3 separate regions of the Homo sapiens genome follow, and all the other regions are linked to region 3. Evidence: promoter capture Hi-C in 16 types of primary human blood cells and fetal thymus (Javierre and others, 2016). All regions are on one chromosome and are shown on one strand. Each heading gives the region's core, a stretch centred on a gene start or on the middle of the fragment in contact. The rest is flanking DNA. Distances are from core to core; before and after follow the strand shown. Region 1 holds the start of VDAC3 (voltage dependent anion channel 3). Region 2 overlaps POLB (DNA polymerase beta). Region 3 holds the start of GOLGA7 (golgin A7).

Region 1 (2,853 bases), core at 231-2,730, 900 kb before region 3:
TATATAATTGCTTTTAATGCTTGTAAGGGGTTCTGCCTCTAAAGAATGAGGTCTAATAGCCTGTTAATAGTTATCCCCTTAAATCTTGTGAAGTGGAATAATGCTGACTTACCCTTATTTTACTAACACAGTATTTACACACAGTAGGCATTCAACACTAACCTTTACCCCAAACTGGAAAGTTACAATAGCATACTTACCATATCCTTTGTTGAAGACATCCTTAGCAGCCTTTCCTAGGTCACAGTACGTTGGTGTGTTACACATATCTTATAAAGAAAAACAGGGCAAAGGAATAAAAATAACCATTTAGTATTTATTCACCCACAGTTCTTCTGCTGTTTAATCCTGTGAGAAGGGGTATACAGTTTTCTCTTCCTGTGTATCATTAATGCTTTAATGCAATCAAAGGTATGAGACAGCAGTCTGCTCCTTAAAAAACAGACCTTTCCAGAATACTGAGAATAAAACAGTTTTCCCGTGAGATTCAGAGGTCATCTTTCTGATTGCATTTCAAAGAAAAGTAAGTTCTTACAGGATGAAAAAGATGCTATGTTAAACTGGACTTCTTTTAAAAATATATGCAAAATTTACCTTAGAAAAATCTCTCTCAGGCTCTTATGAAACCAAAGACCTGTATAAGACAACAATGGAAATTTTTAAAGAAACTGTTAAAAGATGCAATCAAAATCCTCAGGGTTAACATTTTTCTCCTCTGAAATTCAGTTCTTAAAATAAGAATTTACCATACGAATTGAAGTGTATTCATCTAGAATATATCTTCTCTCAAAGCTCTTCTTAAAGTGCTATAATTTTACCCATTAACCAGAAATATGACAGATTCTACCTGCAGCAACCTGCTTACCAAAAGTTAGTGTAAACTCTGAAGTTAAAGCCTTCAAAAACCTCAGGTGCCTTGATTTTTCATCTTGCCTACTAAAAATCTGCCCAGCTTTGCTACTGGTAATATGACCCTCATATCAAATTCTCAGAGCTATCAACACTGCTGATTATCTCATTCCTTTGCCCTCTTTGTATCATGGGAAATCTTTCTGCAGCAGGTTCTTCTGTATTCCTCTCGCAGACTCAAAAGCTATGTCTAACCAATTACAGAGCCACCTCTAGCAGTGCCATTAGCCCATATGTCAGAAAAATCCAGAGTACCAGCTAGCCCTTGCAATTGCTACGCCTGAATGATCTACACATTTAAGCTCATATTTATTTATATATAGCCCAGCTCTTAATCCAGACTTCTGCTAAGCTTCTGCCTACCCCATCATACCAAACATATACATATGATGCACTTAAATGGGAATGCATTTAAGTTTTGTTCCTTAACATAAACCTGTCAAATATGACAGACACTATGATATAAAGAGACTAGTATAAAAAACTAAAAAGAAAAAAAAATTAAAGAGGAAACGGTAGTATAAATGTACTGACTCATTCCATAGTAAAACTTTGCTCTAAGCTACCAGGTTTCATAATTCACTTACAGAACGATTATTTTACAATTCAATCCCTTGTACTAAAGTGATCAATTCTAGGCTTTTTATATTATCCCAATTGCAATTTGATATTACTCTTTATGATTACAACTGATGTTGATATTTGTTGAAATTTTGCCAGAAGTCTGTAATTTGGGAAGTAAGTATAGAAATGCAGGCAGTATATATTGAAATAGAAATGTTAAAGCTTTACAGTCTGGTTTTTCATACTGCCGAGAAAAGATACACTTAAATGTTTAGAAGCACTATATATACGTCTAGGGACTATTTACAATATTTCAGCATTTTGTTTTGTTATTTTTCAAAACCAGTACGAGATACTATGCAAAAGTCACGTAGCTGGTTTAGTATACTAACTGACCTCAATTCTGCCTAGTTCAAGCTGACTTTTTCAGGCCTATGACTCTGATGGGAAATGCACTGCTAGTATGATCAAGCAAAAATCGAGAACAACAGAAACTTCATGTTCCTCGAGAGTAAAGCTACAACCACACGTCTCCACCAGCTCTACAGAATGCACCTGCCCATAGATGTGCACACTGCACAGAGGCTGCAGGAGACGCAGACGGGGAAAGGCGTTAAGCCGGTTGCTACTGCTTTACAAAGCCACTAACTTGACAGCCAGTACAGAGCCCTTTTCGTTCCTCGCTTCTCCGTTTTGAATTGCACGCAGGGCACCCTCCCTCGGCCGTAAGGAGGGGGCAGGGGCGGGCGGGAGATGGGTGTGGGGTTCGAGGATCCAACTTCCCTAGAACCGATCTCCTTTCTAGCTGACCCCTGGGAGGAAAGTGCGGTCCACACGCCGGCGGGATAGGTCGCTGCCCGCGCCCGGAGGCCACTTGCCCCGCCGTGCTGCGGCTCCATCGCCTGAGGTGGCCCGGGCGGGTCCCGGCGGGAGCGAGCGGCCCCGGCCCCCCGCGCCCCGGTAGCCTGCTCCCTGCCCACAGAGCCTCCGTTAGGCCCGCCTCCCGCCTGGCGCTCTGCTCGGCCGCGGCCCACCGCTCTCCGGGACTGGAGCCCGCGCGGCCTCAGCTCTCCTCACCTCCACCCCGAGGGCCTGTCTCTGCTCCGCCAGGGCAACGCTGAAGGTCTTCAAACCAACGCCGTCCGCGCCTGCGCAGCCTCGCACCCCCAGCCGCGCCTGCGCGCCGCCCCTCCCCGAGAGCGCCTGTGCGCCGGCGTGTCGCGCCACGGTCGCGCGCTTCGGAGCAAGGCGCGGAGACGAACAGCCGGGCCAAGCCAGCACCACCAACTGTCCGGCTCCGCAGCGCGCGTGCGCAGGAGGGCTCGGTGTGGACAGTGAGGTTGACTGGGGGCCCAAGAGGCTGGGGACCGCACCTGTGCC
Region 2 (2,776 bases), core at 245-2,744, 860 kb before region 3:
TACAGAATCTTTTTCAGTAATATATAACTTAGCTTTTAATCTAAGATTTTATTGCCTAAAATTTTATTAAAGAAATAAAGGGGGCCAGGCGCGGTGGCTCACGCCTGTAATCCCAGCACTTTGGGAGGCCGAGGTGGGCAGATCACAAGGTCAGACCGAGACCATCCTGGCTAACACAGTGAAACCCCGTCTCTATTAAAAATACAAAAAAAAATTAGCCGGGTGTGGTGGTGGGAGCCTGTAGTCCCAGATACTTGGGAGGCTGAGGCAGGAGAATGGCATGAACCTGGGAGGCAGAGCAAAAAAAAAAAAAAAGAAATAAAGGCAATTTAGATATTTGAAAAATTTGCAAACGATAACTATTTCATTGCTTTTAAGTCAAGAGGTTGGTTCTTGGTCTTCTTCTTTTTTTTTTTGAGACAGAGTCTTACTCTGTCACCCAGGCTGGAGTGCAGTGGCACCACCTCGGCTCAATGCAACCTCTGCCTCCCGGGTTCAAGCAATTCTCCTGCCTCAGCCTCCTGAGTAGCTGGGATTACAGGTGCCTGCCACCACACCCGGCTAATTTTGTATTTTTAGTAGAGATGGGGTTTCACCATGTTGGCCAGACTGGTCTCGAACCCCTGACCTCAAGTGATCCACCCGCCTCCCAAAGTGCTGGGACTACAGGCATGAGGCACCGCGCCTGGCCCTGGTTCTTGGTCTTCTTAGTTTTCTCTGAGTTAGTTACAAACCTAAAAATGTTTATGATGGTAATATAAACTATACCCTATATCTACTGTACTACAGAGTTAAAAAGAAAATCTTATCTTTTGTATCTACTGATTGAGAATGGGTTTTTCAAGTTGAAGTTTGTTAGAGCACTAATGGTCCTTCAGGACCATATTTAATCTGGAATTAGTGACCTACAGTCATACTCACCTTCTAGTGTTTTAATTCCTTCATCTACAAACTTCCTTGCAGCAGATGGACTACAAAAACAAAAGCATTATCTCAACATTGGGTGAAACTTGGGATCCTTGTAACAACCATGTCTTAATAGTAAGAAGAGCTGCTATTAAGCTAAACAAGACCTGCTAAAATGTTGCATGGCTACTTTGGTAATGTTCAACTGTATCCGAAGTACGAATTATTGAAGCTTCAATCATTAGGAAGACAACTATGAATTCAGACATAAAAAGGATGTCTAAGCAGCTGCTGTCATAGTGCCCATGTACAGATGGCACTTGAAAACTGTTCATTCATTGAACTAAGATTTACTGAGGGCCATTATGTGTCAGATACTTTCCTGGGTGCTGAAAATGTAGCAGGAATAAGAATGTAAGTGGGTAGATAGAGACAATAGTTAGTTACATAAACAAGAAAAAATCAGATGGATAAATTAAAATAGAATATGACAGAATGGCTGGGTCCTACTTTAGACTGAGTGGTAGAAGGTCTCTGAGATGGTATCTAAGCTGAGGTTTGAATGACTAAAGAACCAGCTATCTAGGGGATCAAAGAGAAAAACGTTTCGGGAAAAGGAAACAATTAGTGCAAGGGCCCTAAGGCTGGCATGAGCTTGGCCTGTTCAAGAGAAGAGAAAAACTAGGATGCATAGAGTGATGTAAGTGACGGTATGAGGTGCTATGGAACAGTACGCAGGTGTTACACTCTACTGTGCTTTTAGAGCCATGGTGATAGGTTTGGATTTTATTCTGAGTGCAATGGAAAGCTATTAGAGGACACTGCACAAAGCAATGATAAAATCTGATTTAGGTTTCTAAAATATCACTTTATTCATATAAATAAATCAGAATGTCAGAAATGACTGAAGATGCTCTTATAGGATGGGGACAGAAGGAAGCTTACTGATTAACCAAATTTCTCTCTTATTTCATAAGGAAGGACACTGAAACCTAGAAAGATGAAGCGATTTGCTAAGGTCACAAATCTAGCTGGTGCTAGCTCTAGACCATTATCCAGATTTCCTGACTCTCTTCTCACCATACCAGTTTACAGCATAATAAAGCAGGAGCGGTGAACAGAAAGAAATGCATACACACACATATAAACATACAAGCACAATAGTCTGGGGCCACAGTGTTTCGGGACAAATAAACCTGTATCATTCAGTAAGCTATGCAAATATCATCACATTATATTGTGATATAGAAACTGATACTGATGTTAGGAAGGCAATGCAGCATAGAAGAAACAGAACTGAACTCGGAGTCAGAAGATATGGGTTCAAATCTGGCTCTGCCATGGTTACTCATGTTCTATATTCAACTTTCAGTTCTCTTGCCTAGAAAAAAAGGATAATAGATGCTCTCTAAAACACCTTGTGGTTCACACCTATAATCCTAGCACTCTGGGAGGCTTAAGTGGGAGGAAGGCTTGAGGCCAGGAGTTCAAGACCAGCCTAGGCAACATAGGGAGACCTCTTCTCTACAAAAGATACAAAAATTGGCCACACATGGTTGCGCAAGCCTGTAGTCTCAGCTACTCAAAAGGAGTACTAAGGCAGGAGAGTCACTTTACCCCAAGAGTTCAAGGTTACAGTGAGCTATAATAGCACCACTGCACTCTAGCCTAGATAGCAGAATAAGACACTATCTCTAAAAAAAAAAAAAAATTTTTGTAATTCTTCCAATGAAAATTTTATAATGGCCTTGAGTCCCCAAGCAGTCATTTTCATTTTCAACATACTAGGTTTAAGAATTTAATATGTTTTAGAATAACTTTCACCGAAAATGCTGCCATTTAAAGAACAAATCATTATATTTAAAGGAAT
Region 3 (2,773 bases), core at 42-2,541:
AGAGGAGAGAGCCACAAAACCTGCTTCCAGCTAACCAGAAATTGATCCCTGAACGGGAAACACAATCTACATAACATGGGTCAAGACCAAAAGAATCTTTGGTTGAATGTACATATGTGGGCACACAAAAACACAGGCAGGCACGCACACACTCCATTACCTCTACAACAAGATACAATGATTTTTTTTTTTTTTTTAAAGTTTTGCTAGGTCTGAAGGGGAAGCAAATCCCATTCTTCCATTTTTGCCTGCAATGTTGCCCAAAGGACCTATATCCTGATGACCATTTTGATATGCAAGACAAAACAGGTGGCTCCCAGTGAATGTGACAAGTTTAAGGCCTTGTTCTGAGACATTTTCCTGTCCAGGCCTATCTAACGCCCGACGTCTTTAAGGTTCCAAGAAAGCCTGAACGCACCGCCTGGCCATGCACCTAATAAACCCTTTCAGCCAAACAGTGCGGCCAGCACAGAGGCAGCAAACACCAGTCACGAGAATGATGATGATTTATCTTGCGCGGAGAGGTAGGAGGATATAGTTTACAACCTGGTGACTGAGACGACCTGGAGCCTCAGGAATTGGCTCCTCATCGCTGCCGACAATAACCCGGGGTGGGGATTTGGGGGAGTGCAGCAGGGGAACACTGCTGGATCCAGATTCCCGGCACCGGGCAACAAAGTTCCATAAGGTCGTCAACCCCGGCGATCGGCCTATATTATTCTTCCTGCTCCAAACACCTGTCTTGCTTAGTGGCTCTCTTCTTACACGTTTGGCCAAGGCCCCTTCTGTGCCTGGACCTCCCCAGAACTGCGGGACCCTCAAAGGCCCGGTTGTCGCCCACACCCTTCCCGTCCCCGGTGAGTCTCTCTCCCTCGCCAGAGCAGGCGTGGGGAGCCAGGTTGCGTACCCGGTTCTCCAGCTCCGCAGGGAACTTGGTCTGGAACTGGCAGCGTGTGCCACTGCTGTAGTCTCGCTGAATGAACACCTTTCCGGACACCGGCGCCTGCTGCGGCCTCATGGCGAGGACAGGACACCCCGCGCTGCGGGGTCGGGGGAACACCAACCGCGAGTCAGAGCCCCGGCCTGGACCCGGGACTCTGACCCGCCAGCCCCTCGCCCCCACCCGCCGCCGAAAACAGCCCAAGGCCTCCTCTGCCCCGCTCCCCTTCACCCATGCTGTCACCGCGGGCCTTAGCTGCCGCCTGGCCCAGGCCCCGCGCCCCCCACAACCCGGTTCGGCCCGGGAAACACAAACCCGCCTCCTCTGCCCTCCAGCTGCTGTCGCACCGCCTTCGCCGTCACTTACGTCCTGCCGCAAAAAGCCTCTTCCCCGCCCCTCAGCTCGGCCTCCTACCTCAGGTCTGGGACCCACCCTCTCCTCCGGCCGTAAAGCCACCCTGCCGAAGCTGCGCGCTGTGGGGCTGGGCCGAGGAAGGGAAATGATGTGGGCGGGGCCAGGGCCGACCCCGCCTTCCGCCCGCGCGGGGATTGTTTCCGGAAGGAGAGAGGCGGGGCGAGCTGTGGGGCTGCGGCCGGGGCGAGCTGTGGGGCTGCGGCCGGCGCGAGCGCGCGGGGGTGTGAGGGGCGGAGTTTCCCGGCTGTGTCACTTCCCTAGTGATTGTGGCAGGTGGTTCCCGATCACTGATTGTGAGGGGTCATTTTCGTTCTTGATTGGACGTCGCAGCTTACGTGTGGGTTATGCCACCCAACTCATACACAAAACAAAAAACAAAACATAAAGAAAAAACAACACCCCCTCCCCAAACCCTCAAACACAAACTGCTCATTGTGTTCAGAAGTAGAAAGCAGGCTCCAAGGATGGATCCATTTGGTCCCTAGACTCTTGAGAAAGGGTCAGGAAGTGAGGACGAAGAACCTGCCTGGGCCCCAGCGTTGGGCGCCCCTGCCCCGACTCTTCTTTGGGGGCGGCGTTCCTCTCACCCCCCATTTCCACCCAGCTCCCATCCACATCCCTCAGGTGACCAAGGGGACAAGTGGTTCCGCCCTCGTTGCCCACTGGCCCTTACTTGACTCAGCATTTCTTTGCAAGGCAGCCAAAGAAACCCCACCTTACCCTTGTCTCCTGCTAATACAACCTGTTAGTACCACTGTCTTTTATATATTTAATATAGTTTAAATATCCTGCCTTTTAAATATGAAAAATTCTCTTACTGTATTTTAAAAACAGCTTTTTCGAGATATAAATGGCATACAATAAACCACACATTTAAAGCAGTGGATTTGATAACTTTGGACATATGAATACACCCATAAACCACTGTCACAATCAAGATAGTAAAGCTCCATTGCCCTGAAAAGGTTCCTCCAGCTCCTGTGTAATCTCTCCCTCCTGCCTCTCCCAGACCCCATTTCCCAGGCACTGATCCACCTTCTGTCACTCAACATTAGTTTCATTTCCTTGAATTTTATATAAATTGAATCATATAGTGTGTACCCCCTTTTTTTGCCTGGCTTCTTTCACATAGACTATTTTGAAGTCCATCTGTTGTTGTGTTATCAATAATTCATTTATTTTTGATGCTGGATAGCTATTCCATTGTATGGCCATCCCACAGTTTGTTTATCCATTCATCTGTTGATGGACATTTGGATTGCTTCCAGTTTTGGGATGTTACAAATAAAGCTGCTATGGACATTCATTTGCAAGTCTTTGCATAGGTGTGTAGACCTTAATGCTTTCATTTCTCTTGGGTACATACCTAGGAGTAGAATGGCTAGATTGTACGGTAAAAACACGTTTAACTTTTTGGCA

The links. The method cuts DNA at HindIII sites, captures the fragments that hold promoters and counts their contacts. A CHiCAGO score of 5 or more calls a contact.
Region 1: a fragment that was not itself captured here is called in contact with the fragment with the promoter of GOLGA7 in region 3 in 2 of 17 cell types (total B cells and fetal thymus); the score reaches 6.9 in total B cells.
Region 2: a contact is called between a fragment that was not itself captured here and the fragment with the promoter of GOLGA7 in region 3, in 1 of 17 cell types (fetal thymus). The highest score is 5.7, in fetal thymus.

Annotation. Positions count from the first base shown.
Region 1 is chr8:42,391,626-42,394,478 of GRCh38, reverse strand. It overlaps VDAC3 (voltage dependent anion channel 3), which reads right to left and starts at 2,599. Exons shown (of 10, transcript NM_005662.7): 1 at 2,551-2,599; 2 at 595-634; 3 at 201-269. The coding sequence starts at 267. RefSeq lists enhancers at 2,094-2,594, 2,595-2,853 and a silencer at 2,323-2,852. The HindIII fragment of the contact is 434 bases long and covers 1,264-1,697 here.
Region 2 is chr8:42,350,714-42,353,489 of GRCh38, reverse strand. It overlaps POLB (DNA polymerase beta), which reads right to left. Exons shown (of 14, transcript NM_002690.3): 6 at 922-971. Among named protein-coding and RNA genes, the nearest start is that of POLB, 14 kb to the right of the region's middle. The HindIII fragment of the contact is 708 bases long and covers 1,141-1,848 here.
Region 3 is chr8:41,489,100-41,491,872 of GRCh38, reverse strand. GOLGA7 (golgin A7) reads right to left here and starts at 1,291. Exons shown (of 5, transcript NM_001002296.2): 1 at 908-1,291. The coding sequence starts at 1,018. RefSeq lists enhancers at 661-770, 821-930, 1,221-1,350 and a silencer at 1,401-1,660. The HindIII fragment of the contact is 7,658 bases long and covers 1-2,773 here.